7 separate regions of the Homo sapiens genome follow, and regions 2, 3, 4, 5, 6 and 7 are each linked to region 1. The links are contacts of gene promoters, found by promoter capture Hi-C in blood cells and fetal thymus (Javierre and others, 2016). All regions are on one chromosome and are shown on one strand. The core of a region is centred on a gene start or on the middle of the fragment in contact, and the rest is flanking DNA. Distances in the headings are between cores, read along the strand shown.

What was found. The method cuts DNA at HindIII sites, captures the fragments that hold promoters and counts their contacts. A CHiCAGO score of 5 or more calls a contact.
Region 2: a fragment that was not itself captured here is called in contact with the fragment with the promoter of MRPL13 in region 1 in 9 of 17 cell types (naive CD8 T cells, naive CD4 T cells, total B cells and 6 more); the score reaches 10.8 in naive CD8 T cells.
Region 3: a fragment that was not itself captured here is called in contact with the fragment with the promoter of MRPL13 in region 1 in 3 of 17 cell types (naive CD8 T cells, naive CD4 T cells and total CD4 T cells); the score reaches 6.5 in naive CD8 T cells.
Region 4: a contact is called between a fragment that was not itself captured here and the fragment with the promoter of MRPL13 in region 1, in 10 of 17 cell types (naive CD8 T cells, activated CD4 T cells, total CD8 T cells and 7 more). The highest score is 15.4, in naive CD8 T cells.
Region 5: a contact is called between a fragment that was not itself captured here and the fragment with the promoter of MRPL13 in region 1, in 7 of 17 cell types (naive CD8 T cells, non-activated CD4 T cells, total CD8 T cells and 4 more). The highest score is 8.8, in naive CD8 T cells.
Region 6: a contact is called between a fragment that was not itself captured here and the fragment with the promoter of MRPL13 in region 1, in 1 of 17 cell types (erythroblasts). The highest score is 5.0, in erythroblasts.
Region 7: a fragment that was not itself captured here is called in contact with the fragment with the promoter of MRPL13 in region 1 in 1 of 17 cell types (megakaryocytes); the score reaches 5.1 in megakaryocytes.

The regions. Positions count from the first base shown.
Region 1 is chr8:120,443,841-120,446,506 of GRCh38, forward strand. MRPL13 (mitochondrial ribosomal protein L13) reads right to left here and starts at 1,310. Exons shown (of 7, transcript NM_014078.6): 1 at 1,228-1,310. The coding sequence starts at 1,254. MTBP (MDM2 binding protein) reads left to right here and starts at 1,579. Exons shown (of 22, transcript NM_022045.5): 1 at 1,579-1,748; 2 at 2,593-2,666. The coding sequence starts at 1,631. RefSeq lists an enhancer at 1,038-1,217. The HindIII fragment of the contact is 4,989 bases long and covers 1-2,666 here.
Region 2 is chr8:120,904,950-120,907,615 of GRCh38, forward strand. No RefSeq gene overlaps it. Among named protein-coding and RNA genes, the nearest start is that of SNTB1, 94 kb to the left of the region's middle. The HindIII fragment of the contact is 529 bases long and covers 1,048-1,576 here.
Region 3 is chr8:119,979,625-119,982,290 of GRCh38, forward strand. The region is part of intron 4 of DEPTOR (DEP domain containing MTOR interacting protein); the gene reads left to right. Among named protein-coding and RNA genes, the nearest start is that of DEPTOR, 110 kb to the left of the region's middle. The HindIII fragment of the contact is 2,838 bases long and covers 1-2,666 here.
Region 4 is chr8:120,884,692-120,887,357 of GRCh38, forward strand. No RefSeq gene overlaps it. Among named protein-coding and RNA genes, the nearest start is that of SNTB1, 74 kb to the left of the region's middle. The HindIII fragment of the contact is 5,620 bases long and covers 1-2,666 here.
Region 5 is chr8:120,845,327-120,847,992 of GRCh38, forward strand. No RefSeq gene overlaps it. Among named protein-coding and RNA genes, the nearest start is that of SNTB1, 35 kb to the left of the region's middle. RefSeq lists a silencer at 303-597. The HindIII fragment of the contact is 2,976 bases long and covers 1-2,666 here.
Region 6 is chr8:120,079,919-120,082,584 of GRCh38, forward strand. All of the region lies in intron 1 of LOC105375730 (a long non-coding RNA gene), which reads left to right. Among named protein-coding and RNA genes, the nearest start is that of COL14A1, 44 kb to the right of the region's middle. RefSeq lists a silencer at 2,619-2,666. The HindIII fragment of the contact is 1,645 bases long and covers 483-2,127 here.
Region 7 is chr8:120,104,662-120,107,327 of GRCh38, forward strand. LOC105375730 (a long non-coding RNA gene) reads left to right here. Exons shown (of 3, transcript XR_928593.4): 2 at 922-966. Among named protein-coding and RNA genes, the nearest start is that of COL14A1, 19 kb to the right of the region's middle. The HindIII fragment of the contact is 3,772 bases long and covers 1-2,666 here.

The sequences.
Region 1 (2,666 bases), core at 60-2,559:
ATGTGGAATAAATTTCAACTTTAAAAAGTTGCCTGAAATAGGTATCTTTAGGTTGCCTCAGGAATAGAGCATTGTTTTTACAGTCGTCATCAATGTATTCAAATTCTTAGAAAATTCTAGGCCAGAAAGATCTCCACCAGATGCTTTCTCTATGCATATACACAAGAGGCTAAACAATGCTGGAAAAATAGAACGAGGCTAGCTGGTCTTATTTTAAATTTACTTATCACAACCTCAAACTAGTCTACATATAAGAAAAAGGCCAGTTTTTGTCCCCATCCATTGTAGACTAATAGTTTGATACTTAGAAAAAAAAAATTTTTAATGAAAAAAATACAAATGCTGGGCGATGTCAGATTGCTGAAAAAGGTTTTAAAATTTTTATTTTACTTCCTGTATTTATCTCATCACAGACAGGCAACAAACAGCCCAAGGAAGGAACCATACTTGGAGCGGCACTGAGTTGAGAGTCATCTTAGACCGATATAACCCAAACTAACTCCTATTCTTCCACCTGAAACCTGGTTCAATCTCAGCCTTCCCTATCTCAGTTGATGACACACCCTCCAGTTGGACAAACCAAAAAACCTTGGGGTAATCCTTGTTTCTTCTTTTGCTGTTGGCCTATACTCAATATTCAGGAAGTCCTACTGGCTCCACCTTCAAACAAAACCTGACCACTTTCAACACACTCCATAGTATTTCTAGCGTGGCCTCTGCACCATCACGTCTCGCCTGGATTACTGTAACACCCTCCAAACATATTCTTTGCTTCTGTCCTCTACTAACCCCTATTTCTGAACAGTCTATTCTCGACCCAGCAGCCAGAGTGCTCCTTTTGACACCAGGTCAGATCCTGTTACTCCGTGGATCAAAACCCTCCAAAAGGTCCCCATTTTACTCAGTCAAAAAACAAATTATTGCAAGGGCCTACAATGCCCTATGTGATCCACCTTATTACCTCTCCGATCTGCTCTAATCCTCTTCCCCCCGCCCCCCCAAGAAAGACATGAAAAGGGCAGATTGAAAAGAAGAGGGGACGAGTAACAGACGAACGACATTAAGTGCTTGCCAGACTGACGACCCTCTTGTGCTTTCCCAAGTCACCTCTTGGCCGAGGGTCTCGGCTTCCCTGCCGCCCCAGCTTCACTACTTAATCTGCCGGAACCAACGCTCTCCTTCTGCCAGTATAATGAACCCCATCAAGCCATAAGAGTCCGAGCTCACCTGGGGCGCCCTAGAGAAACTCGACATATTCCTCTACTAGCAGGACCGTACGTCCTTCTCCTAGTAGCCACGCCGGGTCACTCAGCCTTACTGGCCCGGCGGGAAACGCTAACACCCAAGCAGGACAGTTCCTAGCCCGTCGAGCACTTGTCGGCTTCTCCCTCTTCCTCGAGTTTCCTCCAGTCTTCTCCACGGCAGCAATTTCGTCATGAAAGGAGCATATAATGCAGTTATTTAGGGAATAACTCCCAAAAATATCTCGCTTGGTGGAAAAACTGCGGAAAACCGACGGAGGACATAATTTCCAGCCGACCTAAACGAAGGGAACCGGAAATGCGTCATAGCGCGCGTCTGTTTGGATGTGGAAGCCGAGACCTAAAGTTGGGGGGTGATCTCTGAGGAGATGGATCGGTACCTGCTGCTGGTGATCTGGGGGGAAGGAAAATTCCCGTCGGCGGCCAGTAGGGAGGCAGAACATGGGCCAGAGGTGTCGTCGGGTGAGGGTACTGAGAATCAGCCGGGTAAGCGCTGGGATGAGAAAGAGCGGGAACGGCTTGTGGAGAGGGGAAGAAGTTTGAGTTTTGTGATCAAGTTCTGCTGAAGAGGGATCAATATGTAGTTGTCCCACGAAGCTGGGACTCTATCTGGGATAGAGTTAATGAGGGCTGCAAAAATAGCATCTTCATGGAAAAACAGGGACAAATTTGTGGATGCAAGATTCCAGCCCTTAGAAGTTCTTGGCATAGTAAATGTTTAACTTAATAAATTTTCTATGCCTTAGTAATGGAATTTCCTGCTTTTTGGAAATATATGCATTTATTATTTCTGCTCCTGTGTTTCACATGCAAATAATACGGAAAGGAGCAAGATGGACAAAGATCTTGCTGTCCTACAATTTACATCTAATGGGAGGAGACATCCCACATATAACCTAAGTTTTAAAAACAAATGATGAATTTTAAATGATTTTAATTGTTTGCGATTGCACTGCTTTTTGGTGCACCCGTCTAGATTCAATATTGCATTTTATGTGTTCATTTGTTTCGATCAAACAGGCATTTTGAGGAGTAAATGTATGTGGTTGTGTATAAGGTATTGTCACAGAATTTCCCTTCTCTTTAAAATTATTCTTTTGAGGGGAATTTTGCATTCGTGCTAACTGACTGGCATGTACAGATCGGGAGCCTTTTCTATTTTCTCTGATTGCTTTAGATTTTCTGTATCAAAACTTGAACAGATCTTGAGCAGCGTTTAGTACTTTTATGTACAACCTACTGGTCTTGAGAGTCTCTGATGGTGAAATTGGACTAAGTTAGATTATGTAAATCTAGAGCCCTTTGAGTTAGTCTATCTTTTCTTTTTCAGACTTCACAGCAGCAAATGTTTATCACCTCTTGAAAAGAAGCATTAGTGCTTCAATTAATCCAGAAGATAGTACT
Region 2 (2,666 bases), core at 62-2,561, 460 kb after region 1:
TATCTTGAAATGATACATTTCTATATTCCACAAGGTACAGTCCTAATCATTAGGTGACACACTGTGAAGATGAATCTTTCTTCTAAATAACCAGCCATTGGAGTAAGCAGAAGACCTTGCCACTGAATGACATAAGACTCTTTTGCACTTGTGGTTTACTTTTTATTTAACATTCCACACTTCATACTCTTTGTGCATCAGATTATCCACAGTTTACAGTATCTGGAAACCAAATCAAACCCTTCTAACTCCATCTGTCATCAGTCTCTTTAGCAATAATAGTTGATAAGTGCCCTGTTGATCACCTTTTTGGAGAAGTTCTGAGAACCGTATATTTTTGCTTTTTGAGAAAATAGTTCAAACATCCTTCTGCTTATAGCTTAAAAATGGATTATAAAAGGTATATTAGCTTGTCAATTTCAACTAATACAAGAGATGGAGACAATTACTGTTACTTAAATCTAATTGGACACCTTATCAGTGACTATAAAATAGACGTATATTTGCCTACCATATTGAGAGAGCAGCAGCTGAAATGGCCTGGTAGGGTAGCTGGCCTCTACCTTGAATAATCATTGTTCTTCCCACCGTGTCCTAAAGCCAGTCAAGGAGGTATATTGCCAACTGCAAACTTGATTGTTACTTCTATATCTTAATAGAGAACATTACTCCTATCAAAGGTGCTTAAAGGAAAACTATAGATTCTTGTTCCAAGCAAGCAAAGTTCTTACATGCAAAAACTTTGGAGACACAATGACCGAGGCTCTAATCCTATCTCAAAATTTGGGGCAATTGTAACCTCTCTAAATCTTAGTTCCTCATCCTAATGTGAAGCTAAACATAACTTGCAAATAAATAACTCATTATATAACTGATATCTTCTCCTCCATCCCTGCCTTGGTCAAGGATTGGCTCACTCAACACAGATTCTCAAATACCTTCTTTGCTTTTCTCTAACATAGGGGATAGAGGATGAAGTACTCATTTTTCTCAGAAGCAGCCTAGCCAGCAGTGGTGATATGCCACAGCTCTGCCCAGTGATATATAAGCTTACTTCTGATGAGAGGAGTTTTCATTAAGTATAAGGGTTTGGACCCTCCTCCCTTCCTCTTGCTTGAAAAGCAAGTGTGATAATTAAAGGTGCAATAGATCTCCAGCCACCGTGAAGAAAAAGTCATGTGATAGGATGGTGGGGCAAGAAGATAGAAAGAGCCTGGCCCCTGACCACATCATTGAGTAGACATTCAAAGGTATTGGGCAGGAAAAAAATAAAGCAACAACTTTAATTCAGGAAAACTTTTCTCATCTTTCAGAAATTAGTTTTCTTCCTATTAACATGACATTGAATTCATTTCTTATAAAATAGTAATCTAGTTTTGCTATCCTACGAAAGAATGTGCTCTCTAATTGCCTTGAGTGAATTATATTTCAGGATGATTTAATGCTAGAAGTATCATGTGGTTCAACTTTAAGTATTTAACAGAGTCAATACTCAGACTCAAGTCTTTCTGATTCTGATGCCCCTGTCACTAATCACTGCACTCACGTGGTGCCCCAATGCCAGCTACTCAGCAAAAGCTTAAAGAAAGTAAAAGTTGTTGATTGATTAATTAAATAGCCCCTCTCTACTTATACATTAAAACTCCTCTTTCAACACAATCTCATACTGACACTGAAATTAAAGGTTTCCATTAGCTGACTTTCCTCTCTATAGACGTGAGAACTGAATGGAGAGATAGTTGAAATAAATTTTGTGTGGCATTGGCCTTGAAGGGACTGATAAAGGGCGCATACTGAAGTTCTTTGGCTGGGCCCTGTGGGATGCACACTTGTGGCCTTGGAGGCATGGCACTGCAGAAGCACTTAGAGGAAACTGCCAAGTGCACGTGCAGCAGGAATGAGCCTGCGCCTCTGATCGTCACGCTTAGCTTCATGTTTGCAGTCCTTTTAGGGGGATGCTAGCAGAGACAGCAAATTCCACATTAATCCACTATTTAAGAACAGAACAGATATTGTTTGGCATTAGCCAATAAGATCTGGTGACTCATAAATGGGTCACAGACATTGCCTTTTGCCCAAGTTCATGGCCAAAAACATACTGGGCATTGTGTCCAAAATGTGATTAAACTAGTACCAGCTCAGATAGCTTACAACCTAGATTAAATGGCTTAGTAAAACACTGTTCACTGGAAACAGAATCTAGGCTTCCCCCTGAAGTACTTGTTTCAGACATGGAATGTTTGGGACAGCTATTCATTTTCTGTTAAATGCTCTGTTGCCTATTTCCAATAACATAATGAAGAAAGCCCCAAGAAGGCATTACTGGTTGTAATTTGAAAATCAAGATAATATTATGTACTCATGGTTAAAATTTATAGAGTATTCAAAGATGAAAAGCAAAAAATAAAATTCCCCTGATCTCATAGTCTAACACCCTAGAAGGTGTCACTGTTTATATTTTCTTGACTACTGTGCAGAAATCTTCTGTGAATGACAAACATATTGTATGGGTTGAATTGTGTCCCCACAAACGATGTGTTGAAGCCCTAACCCCTAGTACCTTAGCATGTGACCTTATTTGGAAATAAGGTCTTTACAGAGATAATTTAAAATGAGCTCATTAGGGTGAATTCTAATCCACTATAATGAGTATTCTTATAAAAAGG
Region 3 (2,666 bases), core at 125-2,624, 460 kb before region 1:
AACAAAGAGCTCACCCCACCCCCGCTTCCATCCAAGGAAGGCCTGCGTATCAGGGTTCATATTCTTTAAATTTTATTTTAGCCACTCCCCAAGCTGTCCCAGGTTTTGGTCATATTGGCAGTTGGCAAAGCCTCCAGGCCACTGGGGAAGGGGTGGGTGTTGGTTTTGCCCCACTGGCTCACTCCTGTGACTCTGAAATCCTTCTTGGTGCTGAAATCATAACCTCAATGGGGGATTCCTCTTAAGTGGGAACAAAATGTGCTTCCTCATCAAAATAAGGGAAATGGGATGGGGGAGATAGTGTGAGAAAAACTGGAAAAACTCTTGATCATTTGCTTGTTCAGGACAAGGATCATCTTCTATGGCAAATGGCTTTCAAAGTACTGTACCCAATGAAAGGGGTGAACTTGTTTGTTGGTTGGCTGTTCTGTTCTTGTGGGAAATCAGCCACCAGACCAGGGCTACCCAATGAAAATATGCTAGGAGCCACCAAGACAATCTACATATGTGATTTTAAATTTTCTAGTAGAAATAGCAAAAAAAAAAAAAGGAGGAATGGGTTAAATTAATCTTCATAATATACTTTAACTCGCCATCTCCAAAATATTATCATTTAAAAATGCAATCTATATGAAAAATACAAATTAGCTACTTTACATTTTGTTATACTAAGTCTTCAAAATCCAGTGTGTTTTTTCATTTTAATCAGACTCACATTTCAAGGCTCACGTGGCTAGTGGCTGCCATCTTGGAGAACACAGCTCTAGGCCGTTTTGAAACCAGCAGAGGGCAGCATGGTGTCCTGACCTGTGTGCATTTCATTTTTCTTTTTTCTTTTCTTTTCTTTTCTTTTCTTTTCTTTTCTTTTCTTTTCTTTTCTTTTCTTTTCTCTCTTTGTGTTTTTTTTTTGGAGATGGAGTTTTGTTCTTGTTGCCCAGGCTGGAGTGCAATGGTACAATCTCGGCTCACTGCAACCTCCGCCTCCTGTGTTCAAGCAACTCTCCTGCCTCAGCCTCCCAAGCAGCTGGGATTACAGGCATGTGCCACCACAGCCTGCTAATTTTTGTATTTTTAACAGAGACAGGGTTTCACCATCTTGGCCAGGCTGGTCTCGAACTCCTGACCTCAGGTGATCCACCCGCCTCGGCCTTCCAAAGTGCTGGGATTACAGGTGTGAGCCACTGTGCCCAGCCGCATTTCATTTTTCAGTCCCTTATCTCTGTGATCTTTGTTCCTCTATGTCTGAGATTTCTGATATCTGTATTTTTACAGTGCCAGTTTGGACATCCATATAAAGTGGGTACCAGCCACATAGGTAACAACAAATGTTCTCCCTTCCCCAGCACCATGATTTCACAATCCTATTTTCTTTCTCTCTCAGTTTTTGATGAGGAAGCTAAAGCCCAAAGGTATTAGGAAGTCACCCAAAGAAAACACAGTAAATGGCATGAGGAAAATAGAACTATAGTGTCTGACTCCAGAATCCAAGTTCCAAACAACTGTTCTATGGCCTCCATGAGAAACAATTCCTGTGCTTGTTTAACAGGTTCTCCTAAAGAATCGAAACAATGTCCATCAAACTGTTAATGTATGGCTTCCAAACTGAATTAACACCAAATTCTACACTACCAATTATATTTTAGGGGGAGTCTATTCAGGTCAATTTGCAGCTTAAATTTTCTACTTTTTCTTTCCACTCCGTTTTTACTTTACCTTTGATTTTTTAATATTTCCAGAAGTCAAAAATGTAGGATGGGCACAGTGGCTCACGCCTGTATTCCCAGCACTTTGGGAGGCCGAGGCAGGCAATCGTTTGAGGCCAGGAATTCAAGACAAGCCTGGGCAACACAGTGAAACTCCATCTCTACAAAATATCAAAATAATTAGCCAGGTGTGGTGGTGCACACCTGTAGTTCCAACTACTAAGGAAGCTGAGATGAGAGGATCACTTGAGCCTGGAAAAGTCAAAGCTGCAGAGAGCAGTGATTGTGCCACTGCACTCCAAGCAACAGAGCAAGACCCTATCTCAAAAAAAAAAAAAAAATGTAGTTGGCTATTATTATTTAGACTGGACTTGATTTTGGCAATTCTCTTAAATTCCTAGTCTTCAGGCTGGGCGTGATGGCTCATGCCTGTAATCCCAGCACTTTGGGAAGCCAAGGCAGGCGAATCACAAGGTCAGGAGTTTGAGACCAGCCTGGCCAACATGGTGAAACCTCGTTCTACTAAAAATACAAAAAATTAGCTGGGAGTGGTGGCGGGCGCCTGTAATCCCAGCTACTCAGGAGGCTGAGGCAGGAGAATCACTTGACCTGGGAGGCAGATGTTGCAGTGAGCCAAGATCATGCCACTGCACTCTAGCCCAGTCGACAGTGTGAGATTCCATCTCTAAAAAAAAAAAAAAAAAAAAAAAAAATTCTAGTTTTCATTGTGGGGGTCCTTTGGAGTTTTACTGACAGCAGAACAATATTATTAATGCTATATTAGCATTATGGAGACCATGTCTTTCAGGGAGAGATTGGTTTCTACATATTTATTACTTTCACTTGCTTTGGATAAAAGAATACAGTATCGTAATTTCTCTTCCACAGATGGAAAAATTGAGGCCTAAGGACTGAACATAACATAACTGAACATTCCCCTGTTCTGTTGCAGGGGAATCTGAG
Region 4 (2,666 bases), core at 76-2,575, 440 kb after region 1:
TCGAGAACAACAGAACTAATTTCTACTAAAATAAGAAAAGTTAAGGATTGTCATGTTAGTACCTAGGATGTATTTTGAAACAATTAAAAACTCAAGTGAGTTGATTAGAACTTTATTTTGGCTGTTCATGGTATTTAGGGACTCTTTTTCCCTATTGAATCATACTGTGTATAATTGCATAAAAACACAGCAGGAGATAGATGTTTTTGAAAAAAATTCAGAAGCCAAATTGGAAAGGCAGCCCTCATGATTCACATCCTTCTGACTTTATCAGTAATTATTTTGCAAGCATTTCCACTCAGTTTGAAACTTCATAGAAGTCACCATTTTTTTTTCTGGGTATCATAGAACTATGCACTGGAAAATATGAATGGAGGAGGATTTTTGAGTTGTTGCATAAAAATTGGAAGATTATGAGACCTGAAAATATCCCTTTTTAGTTTACAATCGTCTATTTGCTTCTACATTAAAAAAAAACTTAGGATGTAATATGTACACAATTTGGATAATGGTATACAATGAAAAAAGTACTATACTACCTGGAAGGAAATTTGAGTTTTAACCCAAGATTTATTCAATAGGAAGCTGTGTAACTTTAGCTAGATTATATTACTTCTCTGGTCTTCAATATCACAATGCACAAAATGAAAGAGATGGAATAGACAGTGTTTATAGCCCTTTTCCAAACCCAATATTTAGCTCTATTATTTTCTGGGTGGGAAGAGAGATATCTTAGTGATTAATTTTTGCATAAGTAACCAAATTAACAACAAATCTGGCATTTTCCATTGAATATTCATGAATAACAGGAGGTATTGGGCAGAGAGATAATATCTTTTACTGTCTATCTACTGTTCTATATTTTTGACTTAAAGAGAGGAAGGAAAATGTCCTGAATTTTCATGTTGACTCTTAGGCTGGAGGTGTATACTTCATGTATCAGGTGGCTGAAATTTTAGTTGTGCATGAAAAATGCATTCCATTTCTTGAATGTTTAATATCATTTTCATAGCCAACAAGCAGAATGGACTATGACAGCTATTTTTCTCTGCTCAGCATATTTTGTAGCCCTGTTTCTGGTTTCTGGAGGAAATCCTAACCCACTACTTGTAGTTCTGATGGAGCTGTCAATCATAGTGTCTGCTCCCCTACCTAAATCCACGCATTGAAAAGCAGGTGACTGAGCTAGGCCAGTTAAAGCCCACTCTGGGACAAAATTTTCTGCTGCAGTTGGAGGGAAAGATTCTCTCTTCCCTTTGAATCTCAAGTTAAAATTTGTAGAGCTGACCTTGCCAGTGGCCATCATTCCCAGCAGGTGGAAGTATCTTGCCTGCAAGAAGACGGAGTCAGGCAGACCAAGAAAGAGAATTATGGCTAGCCAGTTTTCCCAGCACCATTTATTAAATAGGGAATCCTTTCCCCATTGCTTGTTTTTGTCAGGTTTGTCAAAGATCAGATAGTTGTAGATATGCGGCGTTATTTCTGAGGGCTCTGTTATGTTCCATTGATCTATATCTCTGTTTTGGTACCAGTACCATGCTATTTTGGTTACTGTAGCCTTGTAGTATAGTTTGAAGTCAGGTAGCGTGATGCCTCCAGCTTTGTTCTTTTGGCTTAGGATTGACTTGGCGATGCAGGCTCTTTTTTGGTTCCATATGAACTTGAAAGTAGTTTTTTCCAATTCTGTGAAGAAAGTCATTGGTAGCTTGATGGGGATGGCATTGAATCTATAAATTACCTTGGGCAGTATGGCCATTTTCACGATATTGATTCTTCCTACCCATGAGCATGGAATGTTCTTCCATTTGTTTGTATCCTCTTTTATTTCCTTGAGCAGTGGTTTGTAGTTCTCCTTGAAGAGGTCCTTCACGTCCCTTGTAAGTTGGATTCCTAGGTATTTTATTCTCTTTGAAGCAATTGTGAATGGGAGTTCACTCATGATTTGGCTCTCTGTTTGTCTGTTATTGGTGTATAAGAATGCTTGTGATTTTTGTACATTTATTTTGTATCCTGAGACTTTGCTGAAGTTGCTTATCAGCTTAAGGAGATTTTGGGCTGAGACAATGGGGTTTTCTAGATATACTATCATGTCATCTGCAAACAGGGACAGTTTGACTTCCTCTTTTCCTAATTGAATACCCTTTATTTCCTTCTCCTGCCTAATTGCCCTGGCCAGAAGTTCCAACACTATGTTGAATAGGAGTGGTGAGAGAGGGCATCCCTGTCTTGTGCCAGTTTTCAAAGGGAATGCTTCCAGTTTTTGCCCATTCAGTATGATATTGGCTGTGGGTTTGTCATAGATAGCTCTTACTATTTTGAGATATGTCCCATCAATACCCAATTTATTGAAAGTTTTTAGCATGAACCATTGTTGAATTTTGTCAAAGGCCTTTTCTGCATCTATTGAGATAATCATGTGGTTTTTGTCTTTAGTTCTGTTTATATGCTGGATTACATTTATTGATTTGCATATATGGAACCAGCCTTGCATCCCAGGGATGAAGCCCACTTGATCATGGTGGATAAACTTTTTGATGTGCTGCTGGATTCGGTTTGCCAGTATTTTATTTAGGACAGCTGAAACTGGATCCCTTCCTTACACCTTATACAAAAATTAATTCAAGATGGATTAAAGACTTAAACGTTAGACCTAAAACTATAAAAAC
Region 5 (2,666 bases), core at 100-2,599, 400 kb after region 1:
TGTCACTTCCCTTTTACAGGCTCCCCGGGAGTCATTCTCATACATGGAACTCTGCTCAGCTTTTCATTTACCCCAAACATTGTTTCCTTAAATCATTGTTCTCAAGGTTACTTAGAGACAAAGAATACTTAAGTGATTATGACAGTCACAGTTATGGTACAAATTATGTGTACCGCACTATTGAACAGCATACACATTTATTCACAATAGCCAGCAAAATACCTGTAGTAGCTAAGATGTAGGATAAGATCAGGTTTTGGGTAAGATGAAATGGAGCTAAAATTTCAAGTTTGACACAGGTCACGTTTGGGATTATTGTTTTTGGATTATTGGAAAAGAAGTAGTACCACAGATTTGCCAGAACCTAATGTCTGCCTGGCTTAATTCAAACAGTTGGTAGTTATTGATTGCTGGGGAAAAGTGGAGAATAGAGGAATGGAAAAAGAGAGGAAGGAAAAGTAGGTGGTAAGTACAAGGTCCACTCAGCTACAGAGTCCATCTTCTTCCTGTAACACCTCACTGAACCTACTAGCCTTTATCATGCAAGTCATTGAATCTCTTGAATCTTATTAATAGTTTTTTATCTGTAAAATGGGAGTGATGGTATCTTTTTCAGCTACTTTGCAAGGTTGTTTTAAGGCTAAACAGAAAAAGATAGAACATATACAGGGTTCACTATGAGTAAGAAGTAATATAAATGTCTTTACACATTTCACAACACAGTAATGAACATGTATAAATCCAACTTGGGACTATGTGACATGATAAGTATGACACACATGCTGCATATGTGGGGGCCAAGTGAGCTGCATATGTTCAGTGAGCCTGAATGAGGCTCTCTGCAGTTTGGCAGATGGACTACACAAAGCAAAGAAAAAAAATCTGAAAAATAGAAATGGCATAATTGAATTATTCTAATGAATTAAATCAAAGTCACTCTCAGAATTGGGAAAGAGTGTCGTTAACACTGGTTCTGAACAGTTATTTGGAACCGAGTTCAACTATTGCTCTGTGGCCTTGGCCCTTTGCTTCAGTCTTTGTTTGCTTTTTTGCTCTTTTCAGTTGGTGTGTTCCTAACTTGATGACCTTGTTTCAGGCTCCGGGAAAATGCCAGTGGCCAGAAAATCACATTTGAGGGGTTGATTTGTCTCCCTTAACCTCTCTCTGCTACCTAAGACGTAATGGAACTAACATTTCAAGGTGGCCCCAGGTTAGGATTTAGATTATTACTTGGGAACAAGAGTATGGCCACGAATTTGTCAGGCAAGTACTGAACAAAATGTCCTACTCACTTAAAAGTCAAAGGTGCTTGAGAGGTTGATTTCAGCTTTTGCACGTAGGACCACTGATTTACCTTAAAAAAAAAGGAGAAAACCCCAGAAAGTTTTGGGTCCTCATATTCTTCTTGGATGTTTAATATTCTAAAGAAATTATTGAATTTGAAATTTTGTTAGTGTTTCAGGCTTTTGTTTTCATTTTTTTGCTTTTGATAGAAAAAAAATACAAGTGTCTAGGCCTGAAAATAGGGTCAATTCCTGAAATTCTTTGTAGGAGCCTCAGGTAAACTTTATTTATCTGAGTTTATCATGCTAAAATGTCCTGGCCCTAGACAAAAAATTCTTTTTGATAGTAGAGACCAAACATGTCTTGATAAAGCTGTCAAATTTGTAGACTGATTGACCTGGAGATATGATTTCCATTATTGCTTTTGATGGTTCTGGAATTTATATCAAGAGATAAGGCATTTGGCCTTGGGAGACAATTTCTATTGCTGGGGGCAGGGGATGTACATCATTGTAAGTGCATGAAATTTTATGAACCAGTTGGGTTAGTTTACTCCAAGAGTTTCATAGCCATTTATTCCCTCCTGCTCAGTGGTAGTCAGGACTGTTTTGTAGAAGTCATATATGTATGACTTTCCCACTAGAGCCTTCAGAGTCAACAGTGAACAGACATGACTTGATTCCCAGATCCTCTGTCTCCTAGCGTTAGGAATTTGGGCAAACACTTTCCCTTGGTACATCTCAGTTACTGCTGGTTTTATGAAAATAATATTGCCTACCTGGGAGGATTCAGGAAGGCATAAATGATCCTAGTGTGCCCCCCAAATTTATATGTTGAAGCCCTAAACCCCAGTGTGATAGTATTTGGAAGTGATGTCCTTGAGAGGTAATTAAGTTTAGATGAGGTGGTGAGGGTGGGGATAGGATTAATGTCCTCATTCGAAGACAAAGAGAGACCCCTGCTCTCTCGCTTTCTTCACCATATGAAGACACAGAAAGAAGCTGGCCTTTTATAAGCCAGGAGGAGATCCCTAACCAGGAGTCAAATTGGTTGCCACCTTGATGTTGAGCTTTGCAGACTCCAGATTAGAAATAAATGTCTATTATTTAAGCCACCCAGTCTGAGGCATTTTATTACAGTAGTGCGAGCTGAGACACTAGTACAAGTGCCTGGCACTTTACTATTATTTATAAACATCCTCCAAAAGGATTGATTATACAGTATTTACAAATCTTTGTTTTGATTTGAAACTTTTACAGTTTGTAAAGTATTAACATTTTGTGTGTTAAGATCTCGAGGCAAGTATTAAAATTTCTCACTTTAAAGATGAGGAAACTGAAGCAAAGAGATAGAAAATGAATTTTTCAAAAGTCACACTGTAA
Region 6 (2,666 bases), core at 55-2,554, 360 kb before region 1:
ATGGATTCAAAATTATTAGTTGGCTCTATTTCCATGTGAAGGAAATGAGACTTTGTGAAACTGTCATGGAGAATACCACCAAAGTGTCACAGCTGATAGCTTAGATATGTTAACTTAGATACATTAAGATAACTTAGATACAATAACGAAGACACATTACTGGAACTTAGAACAGTGTTCTTCTACCTGCGTCCCTACCTCACTCCTTCTGGTTGCAGAGCAAAAAAACAAAAACAAAAAAAAGCAAAACCCAACAATCTTTGAGACAATGCAATAATTAAACAGGGAATATACAGTTGAATGTAGGTTTATAAAGATAGAAGGAATGTTAAAATTCTCAGCAAATTTAACAATTCAGTTCCAGAGAACTTGCCATGACCTATGATACATGAATACAAGAATTAAAAATGGTGTCACCAAGAGCTTTGGCTCTATATGAAAAATATTGAAGCAAAAAAAAAAAAGGAGATCTAAAATCTGGAAGCTTCTCCCATCCAGCCTGCAGCTTGGGGTTGTCTTTGTGCCGACAGCTGCCCAGTAAGTCAGAAGATACCTGAAGGCTTGGATCTCCCTGTTGCCATGTTGTTTACTCAGGAAAAGCCCCAGCCAAGAGTCACATCTTTTAAGAACTGTGAAAAAAAGCAAGTAATCTGTCTTACCTATTTAATGGTGAGAAACACTGAAAAGATTGATAGGAATGCCCCTCTTCTGCTGAATCCAACTCTGCAAACTGGTTGGAGAGCTGAAAGGGAAGTGTGAAGAAGAGAAAGAGGGAAGGAAGGGCAGATTTGGGAACTGGTGGATCGCTGTTGTATGTGGATTCTGTGTATGAACAATAGTCCTTCTGCAATGAGAAGACTGGTTACAAGAATCCCAGTGGTCCTGAAATTTTTTTTGTTGCTATTTTCTGTTTTTTTTTTTTTTTTTTTTTAAGAGGTGGTAAACTCAAATGCCATGTTGGCATGTGGGTATGGAAATGTGTGCAGAGGCAGGGGATAAGGCGATGGTGAGTAGAGGGACTGTGGTTAGCTGCAGACAGCGTGCTCCTCCTAAAGCATTCAAATTCACAACAGTGTTTTTTGTTAAAACAAAATAGAACCAAACCACTGCCCTAATGAAACAAACACTTCTGCAGGCCCGATGATCCCCTTAACTCACACCTTTGTAATCCCAGATCGAAAGGATCAGAAGCTGGCAGAAGCTGTGCCTCTGCATCTTCTAAAAGTCACAATTCGTCCATAGAGTACTGCTTTTTGTTTTGTTTGTTTGTTTGTTTGAGGCAGAGTTTCGCCCTTGTCGCCCAGGCTGGAGTGCAATGGCACGATCTTGGCTCACTGCAACCTCTGCCTCCCAGGTTTAAGCAATTCTCCTGCCTCAGCCTCCCGAGTAGCTGGGATCACAGGCATGCACCACCACACCCAGCAAATTTTTGTATTTTTAGTAGAGAGGAGGTTTCACCATGTTGGCCAGCCTAGTCTTGAACTCCTGACTTCAGATGATCCACCCACCTCAGCCTCCCAAAGTGCTGGGATTACAGGCATCAGCCACCACAACTGGCCTGTTTTTTTGTTTTGTTTTGTTTTGTTTTGTTTTGTTTTGAGACAAATTCTCACTCTGCCACCCAGTCTGGAGTGCAGTGGTGTGATTGCAGTTCGCTGCAACCTCTACCTCCCGAGCTCAAGGGATTCTTCTACCTCACCCTCCCAAATAGCTGGGACTATAGGTGTGCGCCACCACACCCGCCTAATTTTTGTAGTTTTAGTAGAGATGAGTTTTGCCATGTTGGCCAGGCTGATCTGGAACTCCTGGCCTCAAGTGATCTGCTTGCCTTGGCCTCCCAAAGTGTTGGGATTATAGGTGTGAGCCACAGTGCCTGGCCTGAATGCTGTTTTACTAATAATTTGCCACCTTATTTGTAAGTACAGTCTTGATTAGATAATTTACCAAAGAACATTGATAATTCTTCCTAGAAATAAAGGTAGAGGGAATCATATTATTTACATACAGGCTTGGCTATTTAGTAGGCTAGGGTTTAGAATCTGTGCCCATACATTTTAATGAAGTATAATTTTGTGTTGATTACTTCTATCTAGATAGGAAGATATGTTGCTTTCTAGAGTTTATGTAAGCTTTGTCTCTTTAAGGAGGCTAATACCATTAAGCTAATAATAATAACGGGTAACATTTATTGACCTTCCTATGTGTCAGACACCATATACTTTACATGGAATATCTTGTTGTGTCTCATTTAATTCTTGCAACAACCCTCTAAGGCAGGTAGTGTTGCTATCCTCATTATACAGATGAGAATGCCAAGGCACAGATAGGTTAAGGAACTTTCCTAAAGTCACCCTGTAAGTGGCAGAGATGGAGTTTGAATTCAGGAGGTGTGGCCGAGTTAGCAGTCATAAATCTAACTAACTAAGTAACTAACTAACTAACAAACAAACATCAAAATCTCTTGTCCACTCACGGGACTCCTTTACCAAGTCTCTTGAATTCTTGCCTAGGCCAGTGGAGAGAGTTATCCCAGAGCCTCAGACCTGCAGGCACACCGACTCCCACTGCCTTGCAGAAAGAGGTTCAGGAGCAGTGTTTTTGGTAGTCGCTTGAACTATTTCTTCTGGGAACATCATTATCTCTGTTGTGATTCCTCAGAGCAGTAG
Region 7 (2,666 bases), core at 65-2,564, 340 kb before region 1:
ATTAGCTGGGCATGGTGGCCAGCGCTTGTAATCTCAGCTACTCAAGAGGCTGAAGCAAGAGAATGGCTTGAACTTGGGAGGCAGAGGTTGCAGTGAGCTGAGATCGTGCCACTGCACTCCAGCCTGGGTGACAGAGTGAGACTCTGTCTCAAAATCAATCAGTCAATCAATCAATCGTGGAAATCATTTTATATCAGTTCATATAGGTTTTCCTTATTGTTTTTAAAAAAAGATGCACAGTATTCTATTGCAAGGATCTATCATTCATGCAATCAATTTTCTATATAGGAATTTTTGAGTTGTTTCCAGTATTTTGGCAATTACAAATAATGTCTTAATAAATAACATTTTATGTATTTATTTTCGTATTGTTGAAAGTAAACTTCAGGGCAAATTCCCAGAAGTCGGGTTGCTGGGTCAAAGCGTAAAATGTGTATCGAGTTTTGTTAGATGTTGCCAAATTTCAATCCACGGAGACTGCATCATTTTGCACACCCATCACCAATATATGAGTGCTCATTACCCTACAGAGTATATCATCGTACATACTAATTTTGATCACTTGGATAGATGTGAAATGTTTTACTCTTTTTCATTTGGATTTAATTATGAATGAGATAGAAGATCTCTTCATAGGTGTAAGGACATTTTGTATCTTTTTAGGGGTGTATTGTCTACATCATATATTTTGCCCATTTATCTATAAGGTTTTGGTCCTTCTTTAATCTTGATGTTTACAAGTTATTTACATATTAATGATATTAGTTCTTTATCTGCAATGTGTGTTGAAAATATTTTCTCCCAGTTCATCATTTGTCTATGTTTTTGTTTACAGAGTTTTGTGTCATTCAAAAGTTCTTTAAAAATTTTAAAAATTTTTATAGAGTTGAGTTCATGAATCTTTTCTTTTATTGTCTCTAGATTTTTAGACATATTTTGAAAGTCTTTCATCACCAGATTTCAAAGGTATTTATCTATGTTTTCTTCTAATACTTGCATGGCTTCAGTTTTATAATGAGTTTTCTAATCCATTGGGGTTTTCTTTCTTGTGTAGACTGTGAGGATACAATATTATCATCTATATGGCTTTTCAATTGTCATAACCTAACATCATTTACTAAAAGTCTATCTTGGTCCCAGTAATTAGAGATGTCAACTTTATCATGCATTATATTTCCATATATACTTGTGTCTTCTAGTCTATTCCACTAAGTAATCTGTCTATTCATGAACTAGTACAATAATCTTGTAATTATAATGGCTTTCTGATATATTTGAGTATGACAGAGATTTCTGCCTCCACCTGTCCCTCGATAGCTCTTTATTTTTTTCAGTGTTTTCCCGACTATTCATGCATGTTTATTTTTTTCATATAAATTTTAGTATTAAATTATCTCATTTTAAGATAATCAAATCTTTTTGGCATTTTTATTGGGGCTTTATTAAATCTGAAAATTAACTTATGGAGTACTGACATTTTTATGACATTGAGTCATTCTCTACCTATTTGTTTAAGTTCGCAAGTTAAGTTTTTGGAAGTGTTTTAACATTTCCCTTATGTAGATTTTAAAATTTTCTTAAGGCTATTTCTATTGTAATTGCTATTGTAAATGGGATTCACTCTTCCATTGTTTGTGTATATATGATGGATACTCTATTGATTGTTGTATATTCATTTTATATCTTGCTATCTTTCTGATTTGTAAATCATATGTTTTATTATTGATTCTCTAGATCCATTGAATTTTTATTTTTTTAAATACTAGGTTTTTCTTTTCTAGAAACTCTTTTTTCTTCCAAATATATACCGTTATTTTAATAATCTTTTATTCTTACTCATATTTTCAATTCTCTCTCTTCTTTAAATATTTTAAACATAACTTATTGCATGCTTATTAATCGTCTTACCTAAGGTCTTTGTATATATGAGTCTATTGTCTACTTGTTTTATTTCTGCTGGCTATTGCTTACAGTGTCTTACTTCCTTATGTGGTTTTGTGATTTTTTAAAAAATCATGTATTTGTATATCTTGGAACACTATCCGTGGAATTGTTCAAGGCCTATGTTTAAAGTGAGCTCCTCTAGAAAGGACTGAATTTGCTTTTGCTAGGTGTTTAGGACCAATATCAACCTGGAACCAATTTAAAATAATTCTTAGCCATGAGCTGTTGAAATTCACACACATCATATGAATTCAGGCTACAAACCTGGATGAAGGCTGTGTTAGGGCTGTACATCTCAGAAGGAAATCTCTCCTCACTTATTTAGCCAGGTCCAAGATTAAAAATAAATGAATACATCATTTACTGTTTGCTCTGAGAGCAGGTTTATTTCTGGATCTCACTTTCATGGAAGGTACAACTGTTTACGTTACCAGCTTTCTGTAAGGATCTCCTGGAAAAATTCCTCTTTAGGGGGACCTAGCCTTGAGCTTGAGAGGCTGTCACAGCAAAACTCAGTCTCCAGGGTTTGGCAGATGCCCCAGGACAAAAGCATGCCTGAGTGTTTGTGCACCTTTCTGGATTCCCAGGAGACTTTTATTAATTTTTGACCTTTATGGATTTTTAAAAACTTTCTCACTAGGTTAACAATACATTTAGAAAGCGCCTATTTAAATATGTTATATAGCTTTTTGGTTGTTTCAGTGGAGAAGTTGTTAAGAGTG